6 separate regions of the Homo sapiens genome follow, and regions 1, 2, 3, 5 and 6 are each linked to region 4. The links are contacts of gene promoters, found by promoter capture Hi-C in blood cells and fetal thymus (Javierre and others, 2016). All regions are on one chromosome and are shown on one strand. Each heading gives the region's core, a stretch centred on a gene start or on the middle of the fragment in contact. The rest is flanking DNA. Distances are from core to core; before and after follow the strand shown. Region 1 has its middle 48 kb from the start of CEMIP2. Region 2 overlaps C9orf85 (chromosome 9 open reading frame 85). Region 3 overlaps KLF9 (KLF transcription factor 9). Region 4 holds the start of NMRK1 (nicotinamide riboside kinase 1). Region 5 has its middle 15 kb from the start of CEMIP2. Region 6 overlaps SMC5-DT (SMC5 divergent transcript).

Region 1 (4,377 bases), core at 1,463-3,962, 3.3 Mb before region 4:
ATTCACTAAAATGTGTTGAATGTCTACTAAGTGTTACCAAAGCACTGAATTTCACTCATTAAAGACTCATCCCAAGTATCGTAAGTCACGTTTCAGTCCTCCCTAATACGGTTTTCTTGTATTATGTATTATGACTCTTGAATGGTCAGAAATGAGAGTAAACTTAACAGATGAAGATGGAGACAGGATTATTATATACATGTTGTTTCTGTAAGAACTTTTCTCTAAATCTAATGTCTTTGTAATTGATCGATTCACTGTCCATGGCCTTTTTGAGAGTAAAGGTTTTGTGTTCTCTTTCACCTCCCTACCCTGGCTTTTTTTCAAAGCATTTTTCCAGCCCCACTTACAGTTTAGAACAGATGTAGATGCTGGCCTGCTCCCAGAATCTTGCTGCAAAATCATAACTTCACCATTCCCCATGGACTGAGTAGTGCCGAGGTAGAAAATGACTTCAATCCACAGCAGAATCTGTGTTGCTGCCAATCCAATTTAAGCCCAAAGGAGTCACTCCTATTTGTAGCAAGTTTTTTTCATTTCCAGTTTATGCCGAGAATATATAGCACATCATATTTTGATGATTTATAGAGTATATCTGAAGGCCTCTTTCTCCCCAACTGCCCCGACACTTTCATTTGTCAATTTTGCAGACTTGAAGTGCAGCAAAGGAGTAAAGTTTTCAGAAAATCTGAAGAAAACAATAGATCAAGAATATCAGCCAGGCATGGTGGCTCACGCCTGAAATCTCAGCACTTTGGGAGGCCAAGGTGGGTGGATCATGAGGTCAGGAATTCAAGAGCAGCCTGGCCAACATGGTGAAACCCCGTCTCTAGTAAAAATACAAAAATTTGCTGGGTGTGGTGGCGGGTGCCTGTAATCCCAGCTACTCAGGAGGCTGAGGCAGAGAATTGCTTGAACCTGGGAGGTAGAGGTTGCAGATCGTGACACTGCACTCTAGCCTGGGAGACACAGCAAGACTCCATCTCAAAAAAAAAAAAAAATATATATATATATATATATATATATATATATATATATATCCAGGCACAGTGGCTCATGCCTGTAATCCCAGCACTTTGGGAGGCCAAGGTGTGCAGATCACTTGAGGCCAGGAGTTTGAGACTAGCCTGCCCAACATGGTGAAACCCCATCCCTACTAAAAATACAAAAATTAGCTCAGCTTGGTGGCAGGTGCCTGTAATCCCAGCTACTCGGGAGGCTGAGGCAGAGAGAATTACTTGAACCCGGGAAGTGGAGGTTGCAATGAGCCAAGATTGCACCACTGCACTCCATCCTGGGCGACAGAGTGAGACCCTGCCTCAAAAAAAAAAAAAAAAAAAAGAATATCTAGACATGGCTGCCAAGAAAAAGAACATGAACTCAAAGAGAAAATAAAATGGGTCTTTAAGAAAATAACAGCAAATCATTTAAAACATGAGTAAAGTTAGAGCATATGACCTGGAAGATTAACACAAAACAACTTTGGGTTACTCATGTGTACTAATGTCAGCTGTATCATTTCCCTATCACTGATAGGTATAGGAAACTGTACTGTGTTGGTAAAAAGCAGGTAAGAAAGGGGATGGCTGTCAGTAACTCAGCCCCGTATTACAGTAAAACTACTCCAGAAAACCTCTGGCTCAAAATACTGCAACGTACAACAGTGGGAACACAAAGTGACCAAAAAATATTGTTACAACTTTCCATTCCAGAAACATTTAGAGACGACCCACCATGAGATGACCTTGACCAGGCGTGGCTGAACATCTTCATTATAGCTACAGCAGAAACATCATGTGGTATTCTTAAGACAAATTTCAGGGCCCAAAGAAGCTATTCAGGATCCTGTTTTCCACTTGCTTCAATATATTTAAGCTCCTTGAACTATGACATCCTCCCAAATAGGTTCGCTGACTTCCTTCACTAAGGCACCCACCAAATATTTGTTGAGCGCTTACCATGGGTCAGGAACTGTTCAAGGCACTGGACATAGGGTGTTGAACAAGAAAGAAAGACATGATCCTTGCTGTCATGAAGCATTCATTTCAGAGTCATACTTCTTATGTTCACACACAAGTGAAGTGGTATTGGTATTTCAGAGTGAATGTGTTTTATAACCAATATTGATATTTTTCTTCTCTAGAGGCTCCCTTTATTTCTTAGTCACAAAACAAATATTTTTGAAAGATAGCAATGAAAACTTGGAACTTTTAGAAAAGCCATTTATTGCTAGAAATGGGCTAAGCTTACGTTTTCCTAAAATATCTGTAGAATGAAAACATAATCCAAAAAGGCACACATTCGCCAAGAGTGCAGCACGCTGGTCTTTGACTTACATAACTCTAAGGAAATAACTAGTTAGTTTCTGTTAATGTTTGATGAACTTTGACAAATTAGCACGAAGAATTAGATCAAATGAACTGTATGCACTGTCTGAACAAGAGGGATAAGCAAAAAAAAAAAATCCTCTCTAACAAGGAATGTTGGACTCAAGCATACTCTCCTAGAGGAGAAAACTGAGACTTCCTAGATGTAAAGCAACTGGCTCTAAAACACAGAATTAGAATAAAGGGAAGGAGGTCACTGGAGCGGCAAGGGTGGGGGTGAGCTTTACAACAAAGAATGATGATCACTAGATTTCAGCTCTGCGTCTATACGGGCTCACTTCCTTCACATGGGGAAACAAATAAAAATAAAAAAAATAGGGAGAGTAGCTAGGAGCCAAGGCTCAGCTGGGAACAACAGGAAGCAGCCGCGAGCTGAGTGCCATTGTGGCCACTTCAAATGGCAGAAGGTGAGAAACCAGCACAGCTGGCAACTAAAAATGAACTTGCAAACACGAGCGGGCAGAAATCAGGATTTCAGCCTTTGGGGATGCAACAGTGAATAAGACATGGGGCCTCTGTTCTGGAGAACTCTGAGATTAGAAGAAGAAATAGATGAATTACACAATGTGATAAAAGGGGAGAAGAGTCAAAATGAGGAACACAGTGAACCCGGGTAGGGAGGCAGATGATTAATTCAGTCCAATAACACAGGTATCATAGAGAAGGGATTATGCTGTGGGTATTGAAGTATAAACAGGACTTTTCCAGGTAGACAACTTGGAAAGACCACAGCATTTCAATTTGGAAAAGAGCAAGCTCACAGGTAATGAAGTAAAATCATGTATTATGGCTGAAGCTTAAACATCAAGGGGGAAAGAGAGTAGATAAATCTAGAGAAGTAGGTAAGGGCTTTGGATATTATTCTGAGGAAAGCCAGTGAAGCATTTTGTTTGTTTGTTTAACTTTGTTTTGAAAATAAATATAAGCGTACAGAAAAGTTGCCACAATAAAAAAGATTATACAACATACCTGTGTACCATTTATCTACTGTTAACATTTTGCCCCATTTTTCATTCCCCCTCTCTTTCTTTCCATATATATATATGTAATTTTTGAACCCTTTGAGAGTAAATCGCATACAGCCATTGAAGTGATTTCATTAGCGGGAGAACATGATCAGATTTGTGTTTTAGAACAGTCACTCTTATGGGAGTAGGGAGATCTTCAGGAATATATATCAGAGGCCTGGAACTAAACTAATGAGAAATCAAATGAAGGGTATGTCTGTGGGAATGGAGAGGAGAGAGTACATTCAAGAGAGAAATAAGTTTTGCCCATTGCATGTGGTCTCTGAGGGATGGGGTAAAAAGAGTGGAATCTGAGTTTTGGGACTGGGTAACTGAGTGGTGGAGACCCTGTCAAGACAGAGAATAATAAATACAACGTAAGAAAAATATGAATAGTTTATATCTATTGAATGCTAATTATATGCTAGGCACAGTTCCTAACACTTTAGGTCTATTAATCCATTTAATCCTCAAAACAATCCTAACAGGTTTGTTCTTTTATTAACTTCATTTTACAGATGATTTAAACAAAACATGTTTACAGAAAAAAAATTTTTTTAATTAAAAAACGTGTTTTGGCCAGGCGCAGTGGCTTACGCCTGTAATCACAGCACTTTGAGAGGCTGAGGCAGGCGGATAGCTTGAGGTCAGGAGTTTGAGACCAGCCTGGCCAACATGGTGAAACCCAGTGCCTACTAAAAGAACAAAAATTAGTTGGGCGTGGTGGCATGCACCTGTAATCCCAGCTACTCTGGAGACTGAGGCATGAGAATCACTTGAACCCAGAAGATGGAGGATGCAGTGAGCGGAGATCATGCCCCTCTACTTCAGCCTCTGTCTCCCAAAATAAACAAATAAATAAATATGCATGTTTTGAGGAAAAAAATGATAGAGTCATTTTTGGGGACGAAAAGTATAACCTACTCTTTCTAGAAGCTCCTCCAAAAAGATCAAGGGACATGTGGGGCCATGGGTCAAGGAAT
Region 2 (4,283 bases), core at 445-2,944, 3.2 Mb before region 4:
CAAGCTTGTCCAACACATGGTGCAGGGCGTCTTTGAATGCAACCCAACACAAATTCGTAAATTTTCTTAAAACATTATGAGATTTTTTTGTGATTTTTTTTTTTTTAAGCTCATCAGTTGTCATTAGTGTTAGTGTATTTTATGTGTGGCCCAAGACAATTCTTCCAGTATGGCCCAGAGAAGCCAAAAGATTGGACACCCCTGCCTTAGAGGACTGTAGTAACAATTGACTACTTGTATTAAATACTTTATGATTTGGTAGGGGTCCTACATGATAGTTTTTCTTTTCCTCCTCTGCCAAGCAGTTTGTTAGGACTCACTGCAATTAGAAGTTGGATAATTACAGATGTTTTATTGGAAGTTAATATAGGTAAAGCACTCATTCTCAAAAGGACACAGATGATAGCTTTCTTTATATGCTTGAATATACTCTAGAAAAGGAGAGTATATTCAAATTTTGTGCCATTTCAAATGGCCAAACTTGGACCAGGGAATCAAAGTAACAAAAATAGGTTTCAGCTCAATATGAGGGAATTATCTGACAGTGAAGGGGCTTGCGCCGGGATTTGTAACCTCCTCTTCCCTGGGGTTATTTAAAAGAGGTCCCTCTGGCCATTGGTCACCGGTACCCTCAAATGACTTATGGGGATTCAGAGGGTCGGCAGTGGGAATAGGTTTAAATCTTTTCTAGTCATTTAGTACTGAGATGTTGAGCAGATCAAGGCAGCCTTCTTTCCCTTACTGGAAAGGCAGTGATGTCCAACGAAAAGAGCACTGGACTAAGAGAAAAGAGCCATTCCTTAGCCCCAGTTCTGTCATTTGTTTTGCTTGATGATGTCAGGCAATTTACCTATAGCTTTTAATCTATGATACTGGGTTAGTACTATCTCTTGTCTTACTTTCCTCTGAGGATTGCTACAGAGATCATTACAAAAATTATTATTATTATTTTTTTTTTTTTTTTGAGACAGAGTCTCGCTCTCTCGCCCAGGCTGGAGTGCAGTGGCGTGATATGGATCACCACAACCTCCACCTCCTGGGTTCAAGTGATTCTCTTGTCTCAGCCTCCCAAGTAGCTGGGATTTCAGGGGCACACAACCATGCCTGGCTAATTTTTGTATTTTTAGTAGAGATGGGGTTTCACTATGTTGGCCAGGTTGGTCACTCCTGACCTCAAGCGATCTGCCCACCTTGGCCTCCCAAGGTGCTGGGATTACAGGTGTGAGCCACCGTACCCAGCTACAAAAATATTTTTAAGAAATAGGGATAAAAATAAGAACTAAGAATAAAGCCCATAATAATTTATGTGGCCCTGCAGTTGATCAAAGCCTAAAAAAATTAATTAGAAAAGAAATGCATGCTTGTTGAAGAATACTGAAACAATAGAGAAGTATATAAGGTACTGTATAAAAGTGAAAGTCTCTGTTCCCAGTTTTAGTCCTGTTCAGATATAGTCACTGTTAACACTTTGATGTGTACATTTCTAGATATGTCTGTATGATACAGTGCATATGTAATAAAATACATCTTTGCCCTTCTCATTCAGTAAAGTGGATGTGTCAGAACAGAAAGATTAAGCTTATTTTTTAAATGGCTGTGTAATATTATACAGCACAAATGTGGATTAGCTTATTTAACTACTTTCCTATTAATAAACATTGAGTTGTTTTCAGTTTTGCACTATGCCAAAAAGGCCGCAGTGAAATTCTGGTATTCCTGTCTGTATTCCACATGTGTTATCTGGTACCAAACATTGTGCTAGATATTGGAAGTATAGGGTTGAGCAAAATATACAGTCACAGTCTTAATTGAAGCTTGTGATTTGGTGGGAGAAGTGACAGGCATTAATCAAATAATCTTTCAAGTATGTTAATACTACAGCAGTAAGAGCTATGAAAGAACGGTCTAGGGAGCCCTGAGAGTATCTATAATAGCATGAAGTCTTGATTATGTTTGGAGGGTTAAGGAAAGCTCCCCAAAAATCAGAAGGATGAGTAACATTAAACTAAATGGAGGAGCATCTGTCATCCTTTTGAGGATGCTATTAATAATATATATATAGTCAGTATTGTTTTTAATAGCATTTCCCAAAATATATTTCTTAGAGCCCCAAGGTCATGTATCTTCTTCATAGGGCAGGAGAAAATTTCATGATCAAATCACTTTGGAAATACTGTATACTAGATCTCACTTTTAGAGGTGGGTCGTAGTATACATTGGAATAAATCAATGTTTTGCAGTTAAAAAATTATTCAACCAAAACTTGCTTGGCTATGGAACGCTTTGATTTACATAATACCTATTGAACTAATTTGTTGTGGAGCTCACTAATTTTAGGAAACTATAGTCTTCATCTTGAGATGGAGATGGAAAATGGAAGTCTATGGGTGTACTCTAAATAATTTTGGAAATATAGTTTTATTAATACAAGTTGAGTATTATTTATCTGAAATGCTTAGGACCAGAGTGTTCTGGATTTCAGATTTTTTCAGATTTTGGAATATTTACATTATATCAGTTTAGACTCTTTAATCCAAAATGTTCCAACAGGTATTTACTTTGAACATGATATAGGTGCTCAAAAAGTTTTAGATTTCAGATTTTTTGGATTAGGGATACTCAACCTGTTATAGCTAATATTTGTGTACTTAAGTGTATTAGGCACTATGTTTAGGCACTATGTATACTTGCTATACATTATCTATAATAATTTCATCTTCAAAGTAACCCTAAGATAGATGCAAAATGATCCCATTTTACATATTGGGAAATTAGGGCTTAGAGGTGAATGACATGCCCAGAGTTACATAATTAGCACATGCCTCTTCATTGGTTGGATGGGATCTGTGGGAGGACAATTCAAAGGGCAAGTAAATCAAAAGCCCTCCATGTGTATGTGTGATTTTAAAAAATATATGTACTGTATTTTTGGGTGTAATGGAAGCAGTGTGACACCAGATTAGGGTCAGAACAGAAATGAGTGTGGTTTATTGCCACCAATACTAAACATTGCTTGTTTGAAATGTTCTAGGGAGAGTCTTTCCTCATGAGGTGTGGCCCCTGGAGTATCACATGCCATACATGTGGGCTGGTTGGGGTGGATCTCATCTCATCAGCCTGGGCTCTGTAGCAGAGGCTCCTTTTGCTGAGTTAATGTGAAAGTAGATACTAATTTAGTCCATTTTCTTGGCTCCTGATTTAGGCAGAAAGCTGTCAAGTTTAAGATTAGTTATGATTGCATTTATACAGCAGAACAGGATTCTGTGTTTACACACACCTTTATTCACAGTTGTCAAAAATGGGGAAAACCTCCAAATATCTATCAACGGGAGAATATATATAAGCTGATTGTGGCAGAGGCATGCAATGGAATACTACTCTGCTATTTTAAAAAAAAGAAAAACTGATACAAGCAAAGCAGATGAATCTTGGAAACACTAATGTGGAGGGAAACAAACCAGATACAAAAGAGCATACTATGTGATTCCATCTATAGAGACCAGAAAGGCACAAGAAAACTTTCTGGAGTGGCAGGAGCAGTGAAGATTATAAGAGCAAATATATTAAAACTCATTAAATTGTACGTTTAAGGCCTATGCATGACATTGATATAAATTTTACCTCAGTCAAAAATAGGCAAACAAACAAACAAAGAAAACCAAGAAGGCTGGGCACAGTGGCTCATGCCTGTAATCACAGCACTTTGGGAGGCCAAGGCAGGCAGATCACTTGAGGTCAGGAGTTTGCAAACAGCCTGGCCAACATGGTAAAACCTCGTCTCTACTAAAAATACAAAAATTAGCCAGGCGTGGTGGTGGCCGCCTGTAATCCCAGCTATTTGGGAGGCTCAGGCAGGGGAACCACTTGAACCCAGGAGGCAGAGGTTGCAGTGAGCTGAGATCGTGCCACTGCACTCCAGCCTGGGCCACAGGGAGGGAAAAAAAATAGGTATTACAGGCAAAGGACTGATGAACCACCTAGATGTTTTAAAGTTCTGTTTTTGTTTGCTTGCCTTTTGTTTTGGGAAAGTTGAAGGAACACTAATTATATTAGTGTTCCTATTTTAAAAGACAACTATTTTATTCTTCAGAAATAAAAACAAGTTAACATTCTAACAGATATTGAATATCTCAGCTAACCACAAGTCACAATAATTCTAATTGTCTTTTCATCTTTACCTTTTTGTAAGTCTTTATCTGCAAACTCTAGTCATGATGTTTGAGTTTGTCTCCCTGTGGAGCAGGGGTCCCCAGCCCCCGACCCCCGCATCGGTCCATGGCCTG
Region 3 (4,633 bases), core at 1,378-3,877, 4.7 Mb before region 4:
GGGATGATAGCCGGGCATGGTGGCTCACACATGTAATCCCAACACTTTGAGAGGCCGAGGCGGGTGGATCACCTGAGGTCAGGAGTTCAAGACAAGCCTGACCAACCTGGTGAAAACCCATCTCTACTAAAAATACAAAAATTAGCCTGGCATGGTGGGGTGTGGCTGTAATCCCAGCTATTCGGGAGGCTGAGGCACCAGAATGGCTTAAACCAGGGAGGTGGAGGTTGCAGTGAGCCGAGATTGTGCTGCTGCACTCCAGCCTGGGCAGCAGGGCGAGACTTTGTCTCAAAAAAATACAAATAAAAATAAATAACTAACTAAATGGGATGACAGAGAGAATGGGTGTTGGTTTTGCCTGTCTGGCATTTGTTCCCTTCTGGATAATAAATAACACATTAAATTTCCTTTTGGCAACAACTCCTTCCCCATTCTGGATATATGTAGTTCCAGGGAGGGTGACCCCACACCTCCAGACCCAGAGATTGGATGTGACCCAGTCGTGCCACAGTGATTCATTTCAGGGATGGGGCACACAATCTGAACTAGTCATGGAGCTTAAAGCCTGGAACTTTTGCTGGAATCTTTGGGAATGGAAAACTGTCTTTCCTTGGGGTTTGCTTAAGTGGCAGGATATGAGTCTGGAACTGCGGGCAGCCATCTCACCACTATTTGGAGACAGCCCCCACCAACCCCATGAATGAGGCTGTAGCAAAAGGCAGCAAAACTGAGCCATGGAGAGGCAGAAACTGAGTGCCTGTATCCACAGACACCGAAATGAGAGCTACCCCTAGATGTGTTTGTAACCTGAACCAATAAAGTTTCATTTTTTTTATTAAGCCAGTCCCTGTTTGGATTCTGTTGTCCTGACTAATACAGCTTTGGGCCCACAACCAGGTTATTTTTCAATGGGAAGGAAGCAGCTTCTGGATAACTATGGAAAATACAGAGTAGGTATGGTCAGAGTCCAAGATTTCTGCTGACACTCCTAACCGAGGTTCATGAAAACCAACCATAAGCCAGAGTCAGAACAACAAGAGTAGACAGCTGAAGACTGGTGGCTCTGGGACCAAACCCAAGAGAACCACGTAAAACACAGGGTCTCTTCCCACTGGCGGAAACTCAAGGGGTCCAGATCAGCAAGCATTCATGCCCAACTCCACCCACCTAGAGACAGACTAGGAAAATTCCAGTGTAACCTTGAACTACGTTAACTAACTCCCAGTCTGATTCCTCCTATTAAATGAGAAGAACAGCACCTTTCTATCTCACAGGATTGCTGTGAGTTTAAATGTGACAATGCATGTAAACCATTTAGCTTGGAACCTGACATATAATAAATGTTAGAAATTGTCATTATTATCACTATTAGCCACAAAATCCAAAGTGCCTGGTACCAGCATTTTACACAGCTTTTTGCATGTAAGTCACTCAATAAATAATTTAAGTGAATGAGATGGCTGGGTGCAGTGGCTCATGCCTGTAATCCTAACACTCTGGGAGGCTGAGGCAGGCAAATGGTTTGAGCTCAGGAGTTTGAGACCAGCCTGGGCAACATAGTGAAACCCAGCCTCTACAAAAAATGGTGTGCATCTGTGGTCCCAGTTACTTGGGAGGCTGAGGTGGGAGGATTGCTTGAGTAGGGGGTAGGGGGAAGTAGGCGGGGAGAGTGCAGAGGTTGCAGTGAGCCAAGATCCTTCATGCCACTGCACTCCAGCCTCGGTGACAGAGTGAGACTCAGTCTCAAAATCATAATAATAATAATAATAAATAATTGAAGTGAATGAGGCAGTGCTGGACTAATCTGGAATTCTAAACAAAAATTCTAGGAATCAAGGGCTTCTGGAACACACACATAAATTCTTTATTTTTAATTATAATGGTGTGCTAAATGATTTAAACACCTCATCTGAATTAAGCTTCATAACAACTTCATAAATATATAATTACTGAGCTCCATTTTACAGATGAGAAACCTGAGGCTCAGAGAAGGTAAGTAGAGCCTGAGTTGTCATAAATAGAATGGTGGAGACAGGATTCAAAAACCCATGTCAGAAGGACCCAAAAGCCTGTGCTCTGACGACTCTATCTACTGTCTCTGTACTGAAGGTAAAGGCCCCCTCACATTCCAGTTCCTCAGTTTGACTGTTCAATATGAAATAGGTCAGGCCTTACTCTTCATTTCTAACTGCCTGTCTTATGAAAGCTAGCTCTCTGGAAGACAGAGATGGTGAAACATTTTCTTCTCCCTCTATTTCTTTGGGCCAAGATGATCTGTAATTTTGCTCCCGGTTCTAAAATGTCCAAAACTCCCAAGAGAGACTTTTGTGTTTTTGACCATTGCCTATTCCACTGGTTCCCACTTTGGTTCAAGTCAGGCCCTTTGGGAGATACTCCCTTCCACAAGGACGGAGGCTCAGCTTGGAAAAATGTTCAAACTTCATTGAATACATAACACCACTGACTGCATTTCAAATCCTTGTCACTAATTTTGTATGGCTTAAGCTCCCGTCTCTTACTTTAATCTATTTAAATAAATGTCCTCACTTTTTAAAAAGACTCAATCTGGCCAGTTAAGGATTGGCCTTTCTCCTGTTCAAATTCTCCTAGATTCCTTTCTCCTGTTCAAATTTGTGATCATTCTCAGTTTCATTAAAAAATAAACAAATTCAAAGGCCCAGCAGCAGCAGCTCTGGCTTAGATCGTGAGCAAACTGGTTCTCTCAGCTCTAGAACCTTTAGATTTCAGATCCAGGTTCTTCAATTCTCATCTCAGGATTCCAAAGTCAATTATACCACACTAGAAACTGAGATTAAAAGAGAAGGCTTCGGGCACACCATCAAAAAGGCTTTGGACACACATGGCAATGAATGGCCTTGGAAGGTCCCATGTATTTAAAAAAAAAATGGGTGCTTCTCACTCCCTCAGGGGGGATCACATTCTTATGAATAATAATGTTAGTCCTATTATTTGCTGAGGGGACTGCTTGACACTGGGATAAAACAAATGTTTACTCGTGGCCTTAATGCATCAAAAAGGTATTAAAGTTTCAGGACGATTCCAGGTAGGGAGTGGTAGGAAACCTCTCAGCAGCTCTGCCTTGGGCTGTTAAAGAGAGTGCTGCTCCCATAAAAAGGGCATAGGCCACCCCAGCTCACTCCACCTCTGCCCTTTCACTTGGTTAATTCCATGAAGCAGCCCTTTAAACTAAGGTGAAAAAGAAAAATGTTAACCATAGACTGAAGTCCCAGGAGAGCAAGTGGGGGGAAAGAATTCAAATGAAAGTACTGCAAAGAATTCAAAATGAAGGAAAAATTCCTAGGCACCCGCAGAGCCAAGCTTGAAGCTAGGGGCTTTAGCATTTTCTGCTGACAAATGCTTCCAACTACCTAGTACCCTCATGAGCTGGTGAGGCTCTGGGAGATTACACAGTATGACCACTCACATGCTAGTCAAGGCAGATAGGCAGCTTTTGAAACCTGGTGGTGTGCTTCAAAGCCCTTCAAGTCCCCCCAAAACATTTCAAGAGAACAATCCCCATCTCTCTGAGAAAGGGTGGGGATGTGCTTTCTTAAAGACAAAATGATGGATGTGATGACCTCCCAAGGTCACTTCCAACCTCCAAGTGCTATTCTTTTGATACTAACAACTGCTGCCACCAAGTGCTCTGAGTTAGGCCTAGGCCTGTGACTAACTTTCAACAAAAAGTGGGGCGGAGAAAGAGAGCCAGGATTGCTCAAAGACCACTGAAAGAGGATCTCACTTCTTTCCCTTTTTAACCATCTGTGGGGTTTTTTTCTTCGTCTTCCTTTTGCCCCTCCTTTCTGCGTGTGTTGCATAGAAACAGAAAGTGCCTTTGTACCAATTACTAGGCACTAATTTACGCTCTTCAGTGGGCGCTGGGCTTGCTGGAGAAACATTAGGAAAAGGTGGGAGGGTCGGATGTGGGGGAGGATTCTAGCAGTGGAGGAAGGAATGGCATGCTACAAGCTTTTTCTCCAAGCCTGAGAACAGCCAAAGGGAAAGAGAGAGAGAGAGAGAAAAAAAAAAAAAGAACACGGAAGATTTGGAAGTCAAGACTAACAAATGCGACAAAGCTTTTTTTTTTTTTAATGAAGAATGCTAATGATCATAAGGCATTCAGAAATCAAACTGATGGGATAGAAAGCAGGCTCCAACTAGAGCATGTCAGATTGTTTTAGGGGCTTCTGAAAGAGTGAAGACTGGGAAATCATCCGCCCACTTTTCTTCTCAATGAACTTACTAAGGAAAACCATTGTCAGCCATTTTCCCAATATGTCATATGATGTTTCTCCCTGGGAAGTTCAATCTGGGAATTTCCCACAGATGTTGCAGAATGACTAGTCCTTGGGATAAGCGTCAACAATTGAGACAGGAATGTAAATCTGACCCTCATGTTCAGAATCCAAGAATTCATTTCCCTGAATCCAAGAATTCATTTCCCTCAGCTTACATCTTTGTGTCTGAAGGTAATGGGGTGTCACCATCCAAGTGGCACTGTATTTACTCTGGTACCTCCCTCTCTCACCCAGGAACCCACTTATACCCCTCCCCTCTCTCTTCTCACCACGCACAGAAGATGTGAGAGGAAAATCAAGGGAAACAGTGTGCG
Region 4 (4,745 bases), core at 1-2,500:
TGGGTTTTTTTTTTTTTTTTAAGACAGAGTCTCGCTCTGTTGCCAGGCTGGAGTGCAGTGGCGCAATCTCGGCTTACTGCAACCTCCGCCTTCTGGGTTCAAGTGATTCTCCTGCCCCAGCCTCCCGAGTAGCTGGGACTACAGGCGTCTGCCACCACGCCCGGCTAATTTTTTGCAGTTTTAGTAGAGATCGGGTTTCACCAGGTTGGCCAAGATGGTCTTGATCTCTTGACCTCGTGATCCACCCGCCTTGCCCTCCCAAAGTGCTGGGATTACAGACGTGAAGGGCTGGGGTTTTTGAAAACGCAATTCATGCCCCTCCCCCATTGGTTTCATTTATGTAGGTTCTTAGGTAAACAGTTTTTTCTTTCCCCAAATATACAATTAATTTACAATATTGACTGTTATTTTGAACTTATGCCATTGGCTTCCTTGTGTGCTCCAGTTCTTTCCTCCCACCGAAGATTCAATCCGATAGATCAGGGGTAGGAAAACTTTTTCTGTAAAGTGCCAGACAGGAAATGCTTTGGGCTTTGCCAGCTGCTACTCAACCCTGCTGGGTAATGCGAAAGCGGCCACAGAAAACACAGATGCAAATGAGCGTGACCGTGTTCCAGTAAAATTTTACGGACACTGAAATCGTAATTTCATGTAATTTTCACGTGTCACAAAGTATTATATTTCTTTTTATTTCTTTTCAGTCATTAAAAAAAGTAAAAAAAAAAAAAATTCTTAGCAGGCCTTACAGTAACAGGCAGCAGGCGGGCAGTAGGTCATCACCCCAACGCTAGAGGAATGAGACCATATCGATCCGCGAGGATCAAGTCCTGATCCTGTCCCTGGCGACTTCTCCAGGCTGCGCGGTCTCTTGGAGGCAGCGTTCCCATTTTCAGGATTATTCCGGGGCGCTAGAGCACCACGCCACCATGAGTACACGTCCTCCTCGGCAGGCCACCTATCAGCTCTGTGAGGGTGGCAAGAGTCCAGGCAAGGCTTTCAGGGCGCAACCAAGTCCCGGGCTCCAGCACAGAAACCCTCTGGAAACACCTCCAGGCCCCAGCAAGGCGGCGCGGCGCGGCAGGGGCGAGCAGGTACGCACTCACCTGGCGCCAGTTCGAGTCCTCCCAAACACAGCGGCAGAGGCGACAGCCAAGCGCGCGCCTGTACCCAGTGCGCCGCTACCCGCAGCTCGCTCCCCGAGAGGCCCACAGCCCCTTTCCCCACGCTCCTCCTGGGTTAGAGGGATGCCAGGTAGGGGCGGTCACCAGAGGCCCCTTTTCTCTACTCTCGGCGCCGGGTTCCAGCCCCCGTTGGGGCGGGGCGGGGCGGGGCGGGGCTCCGGCTAGCTTGGCCTCTTCCGCGCGCCCCTGCGCAGCTCCGGCCCTTCCCTATCGGGAGCGCGCGCGGCCCGCGGCACTGCACTGGCGCACGCCCGCTTCGCCCTCGCTCGGCTCCGGCTGGTTCCGCCGCCGTGCGCGCCGCCCGCGCTCCTGCTGCGGCGAAGCTGCCAGCCCGGGAGCCAATTAGCGCTCGGCTAGGCGGGGTCCACTTCCTCGTCGGCCCGGCGCGCGCTCTGGACTGCTCCGGCGGCCGCGGGGCGGGGCGGAGCACTCGGCGGAGCCGCTCTGCCTGCGTCCGCTCTTCCCGCAGCCAAGGGTGGGCGCCGGTCCTAGGAGGCGCACGGTTGTAAGCCAGACAAAAAGAACTGGGGTGCCCGGAGTGCCAGGTGGCGGGCAAGCGGTGGGCTTTTCGGCGGGGTCTTTAGGATTTGCAGCTCCAGGAAGCGAGATGTCGAAGCCGCCACCCAAACCAGTCAAACCAGGTGAGGGAGGTAAGGTAGGCGCTTGCCAGGTCCTGCGACCGCCGCGGTGCCGGCGCCTCCTCTGCAGCTTGGCAGGGAGGACCCGGCGCGCACCCGGCCCCGAGCCTGGCTTCCGAGATCGGCCCCACCGGGATGGGCGCTCTTAGTTTTGCGTTCGCTGTTACGGAGGAGGGATCGATTTTGATAGCAAGAGGATTTCGAGGATTAATATATATATATATATTTAAAGGGGAGTAGCCCTCACTTTTGCTACGTTGTCATTCGCTGAAACTTTCAGAGGGTGTGATGGCAACGTCCCATGGAAGTTTTCCGGAAAGACAGGGCCATTGATCTCCCTTTAAAAAATGTCATGAAATGATCTTTAGCCACTTCCTCTTTTCTCAGTGTTTGTCACTGTCAAGTTAGGGTTCCTGACCGGCCAGAGCGAACGGGAAGTGCAATCCCTGCAGGGTGGGGTGGGCGAGCGAGCCTCCCTCGGGACTTAAGCGTGGAGCAGCGTTTGAAATTGACCTCGGGATCTTGGGAAGAGCGTTTAGAAAAAAACCCTATACTCGCGCTCCTGGTGGAAAGAATCTAGGATGCGGCAGTGATCTCAGCTGTTGCTATTTGGAAGTGTCATTTTATCATCTCCTTTGCCTTTGCTCTCCCAAAGACGTTGGCGTGCTAAACCTGAGAGGGCTGAGATTACTAAATTCCTCAAAGCAGTTTTCTGGGCGGATTGTCCTTGTTCATTTTTGCTCTGTTCTTAGAATATTTTCTGTGATATGCAGAAATAAGATAATTGTAAAAGAAACTGACGTATTTTAATTAAAAGTTGTAACATACTGTTCCGCTCATTCATTTGGGTAGGTAATTAGAAAGGACTGACGTATTTCAATACTTTAACAACTCTTACGTGCATTCATTTGGGTAGGTAATTAAGGGAAATACAGGAAATGGAAGATAAATGGCTCCGATGTATTCTTGGGTTTTTTCTTCCCATAGTGTAATTTCGGTATAGCGAAATGCTGAAATTTAATCCATTTACGTCAAATTTTGAAGTAACTTTCTTTGCAAGAGATGAGTTTCAGTGATTACTTTTTTCCTTGATTTTCCTAAACTCTATAGCTTTCATACTTATCTAGTTTTGTTTCTTTGCGTTCCTGCAGTTGGAGTATGAAGTCCCTTTATTTGATAATCATGTACGTACGTATGTGGAATAGTGCTTCACTGAGGACTGACATCTTGGTGGGCTGAGTGTGAAGGAAGTTGCTGAGACTGGCTCTGCCCTGGGCAAAGATGGGGCACAGCTAGAGTTGGGTTCTGCATTGCATTAGATGTGGAATCTGATGAGAAATTTCCATTTTAAGTGCATATGTATGAGGTAGCTTTCTAAACTCAGGTGCAAATCAGGACCTTAAGTATCTAACAGTGCAGAGTTGTTCTTTGATAGCTAAACAATATTTTATTTATCTTATTTTTTTCTGATCACCTGCTGCCAGTTGAAATACGTTAAAGAATGCCCTTTTTAAAAATCTCTTCATGCGTATTAAATGCTGTCTATATTGCAAATGGAGGGACATTGACAGGTGTGTGTGTGTGTGTGTGTGTGTGTGTGTGTGTGTACACAGTAATGTATACATGTGGGTTCATTCACACTTGGGGGTTTAAGGGTCATCCTGTTACTAATTGTGGATACATTCCCAGGAACCTCCTTTCTCCTTCACATCAGAAAGCTTATGGTTAAACATGACAGGTGTTTAGAGGGAACTTTGCATTTTATTTTATTTTAATTTGTTTTATCTGGTCCTTGATTCAGGATAAAGGGAATTTTGAATCAACATTAATTTACAAATGAGATCCAGACACAAAGTTACCATAGAAATGGGTTTGCCAGTTTAGTAATTTACAGTGAGAAACATTACTGCCAATCAGAGTTGAAACTTTGTGTGGGCTAGCTTAGTTGAAGAAAAAAAAAAAGCGATGGCCAGGAGCAGTGGGCCATGCCTGTAATCCTAGCACTTTATGAGGCTGAGGTGGGAGGATTGCTTGAGGCTAGGAGTTTGAGACTAGCCTGGGCAACATAGCAAGACCCCGTCTCAACAGAGTACAAAAAACAAAAACAGAAATGTCCTATCGTAGTACTGTCCCACATTTACTGTGTGTTAGGCAATGGTATAGTCACTTTACACGTGTTAACACATTTGCTGCTCTCAACAATCTTATGAGATCAGTACCATTATATTGTTCCTGTTGCACAGATGGGGAAATAAAGATGCGCAGAAATGTTATTTAACTTGTCTAAAGTCAACAGTTAGAGTGGGGGATGTAGCAGGCAGTATTAAAACCCAGGTAGTCTGGCTTTGAAGTCTGCACTTTTTTTTTTTTTTTTTTTTTTGAGACAGACTCTCGCTCTGTTGCCCAGGCTGGAGTGCAGTGGCGCGATCTCGGCTCACTGCAACCTCCGCCTCTCGGGATCAAGCAATTCTCTGCCTCAGCCTCCCGAGCAGCTGGGATTACAGGCAGCCCGCCACCATGCCCGGCTAATTTTTTTTTTGTATTTTTAGTAGAGACAGGATCCAGGCTGGTCTTGAACTCCTGACCTTGTGATCCACCCTCCTTCGCTTCCCAAAGTGTGGGATCACTGTGCCTGGCCAAAGTCTGCACTCTTAACCATTTGCTATTCTGCCTTAAGTCATAGTGCTCCATTCACACTGGCGGTCAAATGTGTATTTTAGAGCTGGTGGTCAGGAAGTCGAAAGGGAGGGGCCTCTGGTCTACAGACTTTCTTGTCACAAATGCACATAAAGGTCAGCCCCTGGTTGACAGCAAGGAGAGTGGTGTGGAGCTTTACTTTCTTGTCCTGCAGGCAAGCTGCATGGATAAAAATCTCCAAAGACAGCATGGGATTGGGGGCTTTGGGGTTGTATTTAATTTTTTGGTT
Region 5 (4,719 bases), core at 751-3,250, 3.3 Mb before region 4:
GAAGCCCCATTTAAGGCCAGATATCCAGACTGTGAATCTGAGAGACTGAATTTCAAACTGTAGGTAATTATTTAAAATAGTAGCTGATACATACCACTGGTGAAAGATGAGACTCCAAGTTTGGACTTTAATTTACCTTTTACCTTTTGAACACTTGACTCTTCTCCCTCATTCAGCCCCTTCTAGTATAAAAATGACTTTCAACCAGTGTTCTCAAGCCATGCTGTCTCCGATCCAGTTTCAGCTGTATTACTTACTAGCTGTGTGACCTTGGACAAGTCACTTAACCTCTCTGTGCTTTCATTGTCTTCTCTGTAAAATAAGAATATTCATTACCTACCCCCACAGAGTGGTTACGCAGTAAATTAGTCAATCTGACCCATTTATAAGAATACATAGTACACGTTTGCATAGTTAAAGTTATTTAATGTTGTTAATGCACACTAATGCACAGACATGTTTACTCTGTTTCAGACAAGTAATACAATATCATCTGTTGGGTATAATTATCCTCATTTCACAGATAAGAAAACAGAGTCTCAGAAAAAGTAAATAAGACCTATTTTCTTTCATCATCTTTGGATCATCTGCAGTATTAAAGAAAATACTACTGTTACAAGGAGAGCCTGGAGAAAAAAAATCTTAGTCACACAGGAAACTGAAAAACCATCTTCAAATATATGAAGAGCTATTGTGGGGAGCACAAATTAACCTTTTGTTTCTGTTGCTTCAGAGGGCAGAAGTGATAGCAGTAGGTGGAAGATCAATCTATGCAAAATATGTTTCACTCTTTTGAAGAATTTGCTGTTTTCATTTCCCATTGTATCCCCAGTGTATAGCTCAGTGCTTGACATACTGAGATCTCAGCTCTCATTAGATATTCATTGAATAAATAAATGAATAAAGCCAATTATAAGAGCTATCCAAAATGAAACAGGCTGCTTCAGGAGCACTCCATCCTGGCCATGACCAAGAAGAGCCTAAGCCAAGCATCTGATGGAGGGTTCGAATAAATGCATATTGTATGCAGGAAGGGATGGTTCAAAAGGGCCTTGACAACATACAAAGTATTATAGAAACTAACAGTCATGGCCAGGCATGATGGCTCATGCCTGTAATCCTAACACTTTGGAAGGCCGAGGCAGGTCGCCCGAAGTTCAAAACCAGCCTGCCTGTGCAACATGGTGAAACCCCATCTCTACAAAAAATACGAGAATTTGCTTCACGTGGTGGCACACGCCTGTGGTCCCAGTTACTCAGGAGGCTGAAGTGGGAGGATCCCTTGACCCTGGGAAGTTGAGGCTACAGTAAGCCATGATAGTGCCACCGCACTCCAGCCTGGGTGACAGAGCAAGACCCTGTCTCAAAAAACAAAACAAACAAATAGATCACAATATCTATCATTTGATAACTTATTATGTGCCAACCACTGTGAAAAACTAAAGTCTCATTGGAAAATGACTACTATCTTCCAATATTTGAAGATGCTAGAGTCTAAAAAGCCCAAGTTCAAATCCTGACTCAACCATCTACTCATTGTTTGACTCTGGACAAATTTCCCAAATCCTCTGTGCTTCAGTTTTGCCACATGCAAATTGATAAAATGGGAATAAATAATTCCACAAGGTGACAAGAATGTAGCCAAAAATCTTCCACAAGGCCCAGTATATTTTTGGCAACACATTTCCTTCTTTCCCTATAATAATCACACACTATAAGGAGCTGTATCTGATTGTTGGAATTCACCAAAGATTAAATGTCTTGTTTTATGAGCTTGCTTCCTTGTAAAGGTAGCTTCATGAGCTTCACATCCCTGGATGTGTTTATGAAGAGATTGGACAGGTATATGCAAATAGCAACACTTATAGAATGCTTGCTATGAGCTAGGCACTGCTGTGTGTGTTTTACAGATAGATATTCATCCTGCCAATCCACACATTTTACAAATGAGGAAACTAAAAGCGACTAAGTAATTTGTGTAAGATTATATAGCCAGTAGGTGCCAGGAATGTGAACCAAGGGTGTCTTTGCTCTTAACCACTTCACCAACTGCATATAAGCAATAGTGACAAGGACATTCCACTATTTGTTGGGTGGGTGCTGGTGCCAATGACATCCCTTCCAGCACAGAGATCCATGGGCCCATAATCTCAGTACAGTGTGAACAGCTAAAGGGATTCAACTGTGACAGACTGAAAAACCAATGTAAAACAGGAGGCAAGAGATGCCCACACCTGGAGTGGCCAAAGGAGCAGAATGTTCCAAGCCTGGACAGCATATCACTGAGAGATGGAGATGCTCAGGCTGGGAAAAGCACTGGCGTGAGGAGGCGGGGCAGCCAGCCAGACATGTTTCCTACAGCTAGGCCCTAGGTGTCACCAGTGTGACAGGGCCACCAGTCATCCCTCCATTCTTTTGTACTTTCATTTACACATTTCATTTCGTGACAGGAAATAACACTGTCAGCAGCACAGTTGCTCACGGCATGTGCTGCAGGGGAGCTGACGCACGGAGGGTGGAAAGGGTGGAGGTGGGACAACGGGTGTTTGTGCCAGCATGTCATATACCGTCCTGACCTGCTGCATGCTCTTCCTTGCCCCGGGGCAGGTCTGGCAGCTGCTTACACAAGGCTCAAGTTGTTTGGAGTGGGGGAGGGAGAGGGGACCCACATCACCTATTTGCAGCTTTGCTTTTAAAAGTCGGTATCACCGATTTAGATTTGGGGTTTGGATTTTGAGGGGAACAAGAGGATTATTAGGTCCTAATATGACTTTTCTTCTCTTGCTCCCCTCTGCCTTCGGAAGTATCTAGATGTAATATCTCGTGCTAACCACAAGTTGAGAGTGGTAAAGTCATTCTGCTGGAGAAAATAGTAAAAATAATACTGACTTCCATGTTCATATTCAGTTTGTTTCTAGGAAAGACAAACATCAGTGGCGTTTAAATAAAAGATTTTTCAGCTGGGTGCAGTGGCACATGCCTGTAATCCCAGCTACTCGGGAGGCTGAGGCACAAGAATCACTAGAACCTGGCAGGTGGAGGTTGCAGTGAGCCAAGATCACACCACTGCACTGCAGCCTGGGTGACAGAGCGAGACTCTGTCTCAAAAATAAATAAATAAATAAGTAAAATATTTTTGTATGATTAGCCCATGTTATATATACTCAACCTTAGTCAAACTTTGTATTGACACCCTCTCCACCCTGCCACCACAGATTATTTGCTGGTCAAAAGAGGAAAATAGTTACAGGCCAGAGCAAGGAAGGGAACTGTTTCAGACCACGAGAGACTTAAAATGCACAATAATCAAGTACAACATGTAGTCTTTGACTGGATCTTTATCTGAGTGGATCAATGGAAGACACATTTGGGATCAAATGAAGAAATTTCAATATGGACAAGGAATCAGGTGCTTTAAGGAATTATTGTTAATCTTGTTAGCTATTGTCTTAGTTCATTTTGGGTTGCTATAAAAGAATACCCGAGGCTGGGTAATTTATTAAGAAAAGAGGTTTATTTGGCTCATGTTTCTAGAGGCTGTACAAGAAGCATGGCATTGAGCATCTGCTTCTGGTGGGGACCTCAGGCAGTTTTCATTCACGGTGGAAGGTGACAGGGAGCAAGAGAGAGGGAAGGAAGGTGCCAGGCTCTTTTTAGAAATCATATCTCAGAGGAACTAATAGAGGGAAAAGTCACTCATTGCCACCGTGAGGGCGGCAGAAAGCCCTTCATGAGAGATCTACCCCCATGATCCAAAATTGAGGATCAAATTTCAACATGAGATTTGGAGGGGACAAGTATCCAAACTATATTAGGAATATTAATGATGTTATATAAAGAAAAGAAATTTTAATCCACATAATTGTTTAGGAAAAAAAAAGAAAAAATTTTTTTAAAAAATATGTGTTTTCATATGTTTATTTCAGCACTATTTACAATAACAAAGACTTGGAACCAACCCAAATGCCCATCAATGATAGCCTGGATAAAGAAAATGTGTCACATATACACCATGGAATACTATGCAGCCATAAAAAAGAGTTGGTTCATGTCCTTTGCAGGGGCATAGATGAAGCTGGAAGCCATCATTCTCAGCAAACTAACACAGGAACAGAAAACCAAACACCTCATGCTCTCACTCATAAGTGGGAGTTGAACAATGAGGATACATGGACACGGGGAAGGCAACTTCACACACCAGGGCCAGTCAGGGGTGGGGGGCAAGGGGAGGGAGAGCATTAGGAGAAATACCGAATGTATGCGGGGCTTAAAACCTAGATGACGGGTTGATAGGTGCAGCAAACCATCACGGCACATGTATACCTATGTAACAAGTCTGCACATTCTGCACATGTCTCCCAGAACTTAAAAGTAAAATAAATTTTAAAAAAGAAGAAAAAAATGTGTGTTTTTAGATGTTCCCACTGAAGTATTAGGGGCAAAAGATCATGACATCTGTTTTCGTTTTTGAGATGAGGTCTCATTCTGTCACCCACACTGGAGTGCACTGGTGCAATCATGGCTCATTGCAGCTTCAACCCCCCAAGCTCAAGCGATCCTTCCACCTCAGCCTCCCAAGTAGCTGGGACCACAGGCATGAGTCACTATGCTCAGTTAATTTTTTTTTTTTGTAATTTTTGTAGAGACAGGGGTCTCATTATGTTGCCCAGGCTGGTCTCAATCTCCTAGGCTCAAGCAATCCTCCTGCCTCGGCCTCCC
Region 6 (4,445 bases), core at 1,885-4,384, 4.8 Mb before region 4:
CAGTGCCCTTACAAGAGGCTACAGAGATGAGTTCTTCCTCTCCACCATGGGAGGACACAGTGAGAAGGCACTGTCTATGAGGATGTAAGCCCTCACCACACACCAAATCTGCTGGTTCCTTGATCTCCCACCTCTCAAGCTCTAGAACTGCTAGAAATAAATTTCTATTTTTATAAGCCACACAGTCTATGGTATTTTCTTAGAGCAGACCAACCCAAATTAAAACAGTGTATTGTGATAGTGAGGTGAAATACATGCATAATCCTTGACCCTGCCCATTTCTGTCAACTTTTTATTTGTCAGTTTTTAAAGTTCCTGCAGAATTGGAAGGCTGTCACTCAAAATGGCCCTGGTTACTTACTCCTTGGTCAGTAGAAAGTTAAATACAATTGCTTTGCCATGTCTATTAGCTGATGTCTGACTAAGCTGATAAGTAGCATCGGCTCTATTGTGGCTCACTCATTAATTAGCATCAAATTCAGGTTGATATTCTATTTCCAAAAATCTCCCTCTGCCTTTTTAAAATCACCTCTTTCAAGATGGTTTGCAAAAGTGGAATTAAATAATCGAGATGTGGCAAGATAATGTGTATACTCTGATAGGTGCATGAAATTTTCAAAGTGTTAAAAAGCACTGAGCTAGTATAGTTTGCCAGAGAATCTTTGGTTATGCTAACTTCCAGTTATACAGAATCCAACAAATGAGAACTATTTAAATCAAGAATGGTACATTTGTTTAATGGAATACTATGTGATTACTTAAAACTATATCACAGAAAAAAAAACTATATCACAAAAAAAATTATGGCATGGAAAGTTATTCATAATATATTAAGTGGGGGACAGGGGTAAATATGGTATCTATAGAACAATTTGTGCAGAATCATCCTTTTTTAAAACAAAAGGCACAGACCATATGTACAAGTATACAAGAAAAAAAGATGCCAAAACATACACCAAAATTTTAACAATTAGTCTGGGTAGAGGAATTATAAGTTTTTCCTTTGCATGTGTTTGTTTTTCTGTGTGTTTTCCCAAATTTTCTGCATTTAACATGTGTTGCTATGGTAATCACAGCTAAAACCAGTAACATTTCCTTTTTAAAAGGATGGTGTTACAGCATGACTGAGTAGCTGTTTAAAACTTGTAGAGTGTCTACATTTGTGAAGTCATCACAAGTTCAGGGACTCATTCTAAAATTTCAAGTTTAGAAACACAATTTGATTAGTTCACTAAAGACTAATCACATAGAAGGAATACATTCTAATGTTTGATAGCACAGTAGAGTGACTATAGTTAACAATTATCTATTGTATTTTTCAAAATAGCTGGAAGACTTGAAAGGGACCCATCACATAGACATTATAAATACCCTAACTTAATCATTACATATCATACGCATGTAACAAAATTGCACATGTACCCCATTAATATGTACAAATATATATATATTCAAAAAATAATTTTTAAAAAGCTGAGGAGGAAAGAACAAATTTTAAAAAGCTGGAGGGGAAAGAACAAATTAAACTTTAACAGAAAGTTAATTACGAAGATAAGTAGAAATTATGAAATCAAAAGTCAACAAAAGCAAAAATCAAGTTGTTCCTTTAAAAAGATTAATAAAACATACGTAACCTCTACTAGATTAATAAATGAGAGGAAGAAATGAACAATTTACCAGTATCAAGTGAGAAAGAGGAAGCATCACTATAGATGCTGCAAACGTTAATGGATATTAACACATAACTTCATGTAATAAGTTTGACAACTTAGATGAAAAGGACAAATTACTTGAAAAGCACAACCTATTAAAACTGACTCAAGAAGACACAGAAAATCTGAAATTATTTAATCATGCTATTCACACAGCTACTTCAGAGGCTCCAAGTCTTATAATGTGGGGTTTCTTGGCTCCTTACCCCTCTCCTGGGGGATCTAGGAAATAAATGTTGCTATTGATTGCCAAAAAAGGGAAGAAAAAAAAGGACTGATCATTGTACAAAAATGATGACTAGCTCCCTGCCCTCAGCTCCCATTACTAATGTCTATAATTCTTATTTGTTCATCAGGGTAGATTCCCCTAAATGTAGTAACTTCATCAAACAATCTGACTTTTCTACAGCTCTTGAAGCAGAGCCTTTACTTTTCAAAAAATTCATGCTAGCAACTCAGGGAAGGACAGTATTGTGCCCTCCTGAGCACTGAGTTTTTTCGTTACTCACCGCCATTTGAACAGTTTAAAAATTATTCTTTATTTTTGTTGCAGTCTCACCAACGCACCTTAACGTAGCAGTTTCTCATTGTCTGAACTAGTACCCTGGGTTCTTTGTCCTCACGTCCAAGAAAATTAAGGAACGTGGACACAAAGGTGGGGTTGGAGCAAAAGTTTAATAAGTGAAAGAAAGAAAAGAAGCTCTCTGCATTAGAGAGGGGAGTCTGACTGGACTGCCAAGTTGTAGTAAAAACGTCAGGGTTTTTATAAATGGACTAGTGAGGAGGGGTGTCTTATCTTCCCAGGGCCTGAAGATTTAGTTGGGACCAGGTGTGCTATCGGCATAGAGCAGAGTTCCTAACAGCCTTTACCCAATTCCTTGATCACATAAGCAGGCTTTTAGTTTATGCTGCTCTGTGCTGCTTTGTGTCGCTTAAGTTTCTGTGTCTGTTCCCAGACATTTTCTTGCAGCTGCAGGCATCCCCCAACCCTCCCTGTATAAGCTTCTCGCTTCCGTATCTTAGTGGGCCTAAACGGAAAGGAATGTACTTATTAAGTCTCACAGTTTTTACTGGGGCCCATTGTATGAGTATGAAGTCGAGACTCTCCCACTCCTGTGCTTGTTTATCTGTGCTTAAAGCTGTCTATCTGTCCAGGTGCAACCTGAGGTTTTCCCAAGGTTGTTTTATTTTTTGCCTGTTGCTGTGACTTTTCAGGTAGGCTGCTGCTGCAGTCTGAATTTTTTCAATGATTTTTCCTTCCCGTCTCTCTCATTTTCATTTGCATTTAAGAAAATTTCCAGTAACTACGACAAGTTCACATGCTTTTTACTTACTCTATTTTCTCTGGAGCGGAGTCCTTGTGTGAGAGGAAGCAGCAGAGACCTGGGAAAGGAGCTTTGGTCTAGGAGTCAGGAATCAGGGATCTACTGCAATAGCTTTCTAAGTGGCCTTCCACTTCCACACTTGGTGCCCTCTAATCCATTTTCCACACAGCAACCAGAATTATTATTTAAAAACTTTAAGGCCAGGCACAGTGGCTCATGCCTGTAGTGCCAGCACTTCGGGACACCGAGGTGGGCGGATCACTTGAGGTCAGGAGTTACAGACCAGCCTGGCCAAAATGGTGAAACCTCGTCTCTACTAAAAATACAAAAATTAGCCAGGTGTGGTGGCATGCACCTGTAATCCCAGCTACTCGGGAGGCTGAGGCAGAAGAACCGCTTGAACGAGGGAGGCAGAGTTTGCAGTGAACTGAGGTGGCACTACTGCACTCCAGCCTGGGCGACTGGGTGAGACTCTGTCTCAAAAAAATCAAATAAAAAAAATCAAATAAAAAAATTAAAAGCTTTAGTCAGAACATGGCCCTCTCCTGCTTAAAACTTTGCAATGGCTTCCCATTGCTTTAAAAATAAAATTCAGGCTTTTCCACGATGGACAAGGTTCTGCTCTGCAACCTTGTTCACTGCTCTGCAGCAACACTGGCCTTCCCACCTCAGAGCTTTTGTCCTTACTGGTATGTTCCAGCAAAATTCTTTTGCCTGGGGTGCTCTTTTCTCAGATCGTCACAGTTTCTTCTCGTCCTTCAGAGTTTATCTTAAACACCACCACCTCTCTAAGAGGCCTTCCGTACCTCCCACCCATCAGGTTCATTTTGTTTTCTTCCTAACACCTGTCACAGTCTGACATTATGCTAATCATTTGTTGTGTCAGCCTTAAGTAGTGAAATTCAGAAAATATCATTAAGTATAGAGTTTATTCTAACGCAAAGCTTGAGGACAGCCACCTGGAAACACCAACTCCAAACAAATAGGGTCAATGTTCCAAAGTGAAGTTAAGGTTTCATTTACACAGGCAGAAACAGAGAAGGTTCAGCAGGAGTACATTTTCAATACAAGAGCAGTGCATAAATTACAGCGATTAGATTAGTTATAGATAGCTACATTCCAAGGAAGATAACTATATTAATTTATGAAGGGGGTAGTGATCTGAGGGGGTCTTACCTCTGTCTCTGTTTGGTCTTCCTGATTATAGGAAAAAACAAGGCAGACATTGCAGCTGTATGCCATGGGACTCAGGCCCCATCGCCACATTCTTCGCAAGGCTCAGAATAATTTAAAGTTCCAACAGCTTTAAGTTTGAATTATTTAATTTCACAGTTGATTCACTTGTTCTTTTCCTGTCTCCCACAATAGAAAATAAGCTCCCAGGGATGCAACCTTGGCAGGCTCCTAA

What was found. The method cuts DNA at HindIII sites, captures the fragments that hold promoters and counts their contacts. A CHiCAGO score of 5 or more calls a contact.
Region 1: a contact is called between a fragment that was not itself captured here and the fragment with the promoter of NMRK1 in region 4, in 1 of 17 cell types (non-activated CD4 T cells). The highest score is 5.2, in non-activated CD4 T cells.
Region 2: a fragment that was not itself captured here is called in contact with the fragment with the promoter of NMRK1 in region 4 in 1 of 17 cell types (M0 macrophages); the score reaches 5.7 in M0 macrophages.
Region 3: a contact is called between a fragment that was not itself captured here and the fragment with the promoter of NMRK1 in region 4, in 1 of 17 cell types (total B cells). The highest score is 8.1, in total B cells.
Region 5: a contact is called between a fragment that was not itself captured here and the fragment with the promoter of NMRK1 in region 4, in 1 of 17 cell types (total B cells). The highest score is 5.3, in total B cells.
Region 6: a contact is called between a fragment that was not itself captured here and the fragment with the promoter of NMRK1 in region 4, in 1 of 17 cell types (total B cells). The highest score is 6.2, in total B cells.

Annotation. Positions count from the first base shown.
Region 1 is chr9:71,814,605-71,818,981 of GRCh38, forward strand. No RefSeq gene overlaps it. Among named protein-coding and RNA genes, the nearest start is that of CEMIP2, 48 kb to the left of the region's middle. The HindIII fragment of the contact is 938 bases long and covers 2,244-3,181 here.
Region 2 is chr9:71,914,236-71,918,518 of GRCh38, forward strand. The region is part of intron 1 of C9orf85 (chromosome 9 open reading frame 85); the gene reads left to right. Among named protein-coding and RNA genes, the nearest start is that of C9orf85, 4.7 kb to the left of the region's middle. The HindIII fragment of the contact is 236 bases long and covers 1,577-1,812 here.
Region 3 is chr9:70,402,860-70,407,492 of GRCh38, forward strand. All of the region lies in intron 1 of KLF9 (KLF transcription factor 9), which reads right to left. It overlaps LOC124900273 (a long non-coding RNA gene), which reads right to left. Exons shown (of 2, transcript XR_007061576.1): 2 at 1-4,633. Among named protein-coding and RNA genes, the nearest start is that of KLF9-DT, 9.0 kb to the right of the region's middle. The HindIII fragment of the contact is 1,420 bases long and covers 1,918-3,337 here.
Region 4 is chr9:75,086,905-75,091,649 of GRCh38, forward strand. It overlaps NMRK1 (nicotinamide riboside kinase 1), which reads right to left and starts at 1,251. Exons shown (of 9, transcript NM_017881.3): 1 at 1,104-1,251. OSTF1 (osteoclast stimulating factor 1) reads left to right here and starts at 1,610. Exons shown (of 10, transcript NM_012383.5): 1 at 1,610-1,822. The coding sequence starts at 1,789. RefSeq lists silencers at 1,121-1,720, 1,911-2,000. The HindIII fragment of the contact is 4,153 bases long and covers 1-3,535 here.
Region 5 is chr9:71,780,871-71,785,589 of GRCh38, forward strand. No RefSeq gene overlaps it. Among named protein-coding and RNA genes, the nearest start is that of CEMIP2, 15 kb to the left of the region's middle. The HindIII fragment of the contact is 9,079 bases long and covers 1-4,719 here.
Region 6 is chr9:70,253,702-70,258,146 of GRCh38, forward strand. It overlaps SMC5-DT (SMC5 divergent transcript), which reads right to left. Exons shown (of 4, transcript NR_039990.1): 2 at 4,214-4,234. Among named protein-coding and RNA genes, the nearest start is that of SMC5-DT, 3.0 kb to the right of the region's middle. The HindIII fragment of the contact is 844 bases long and covers 2,713-3,556 here.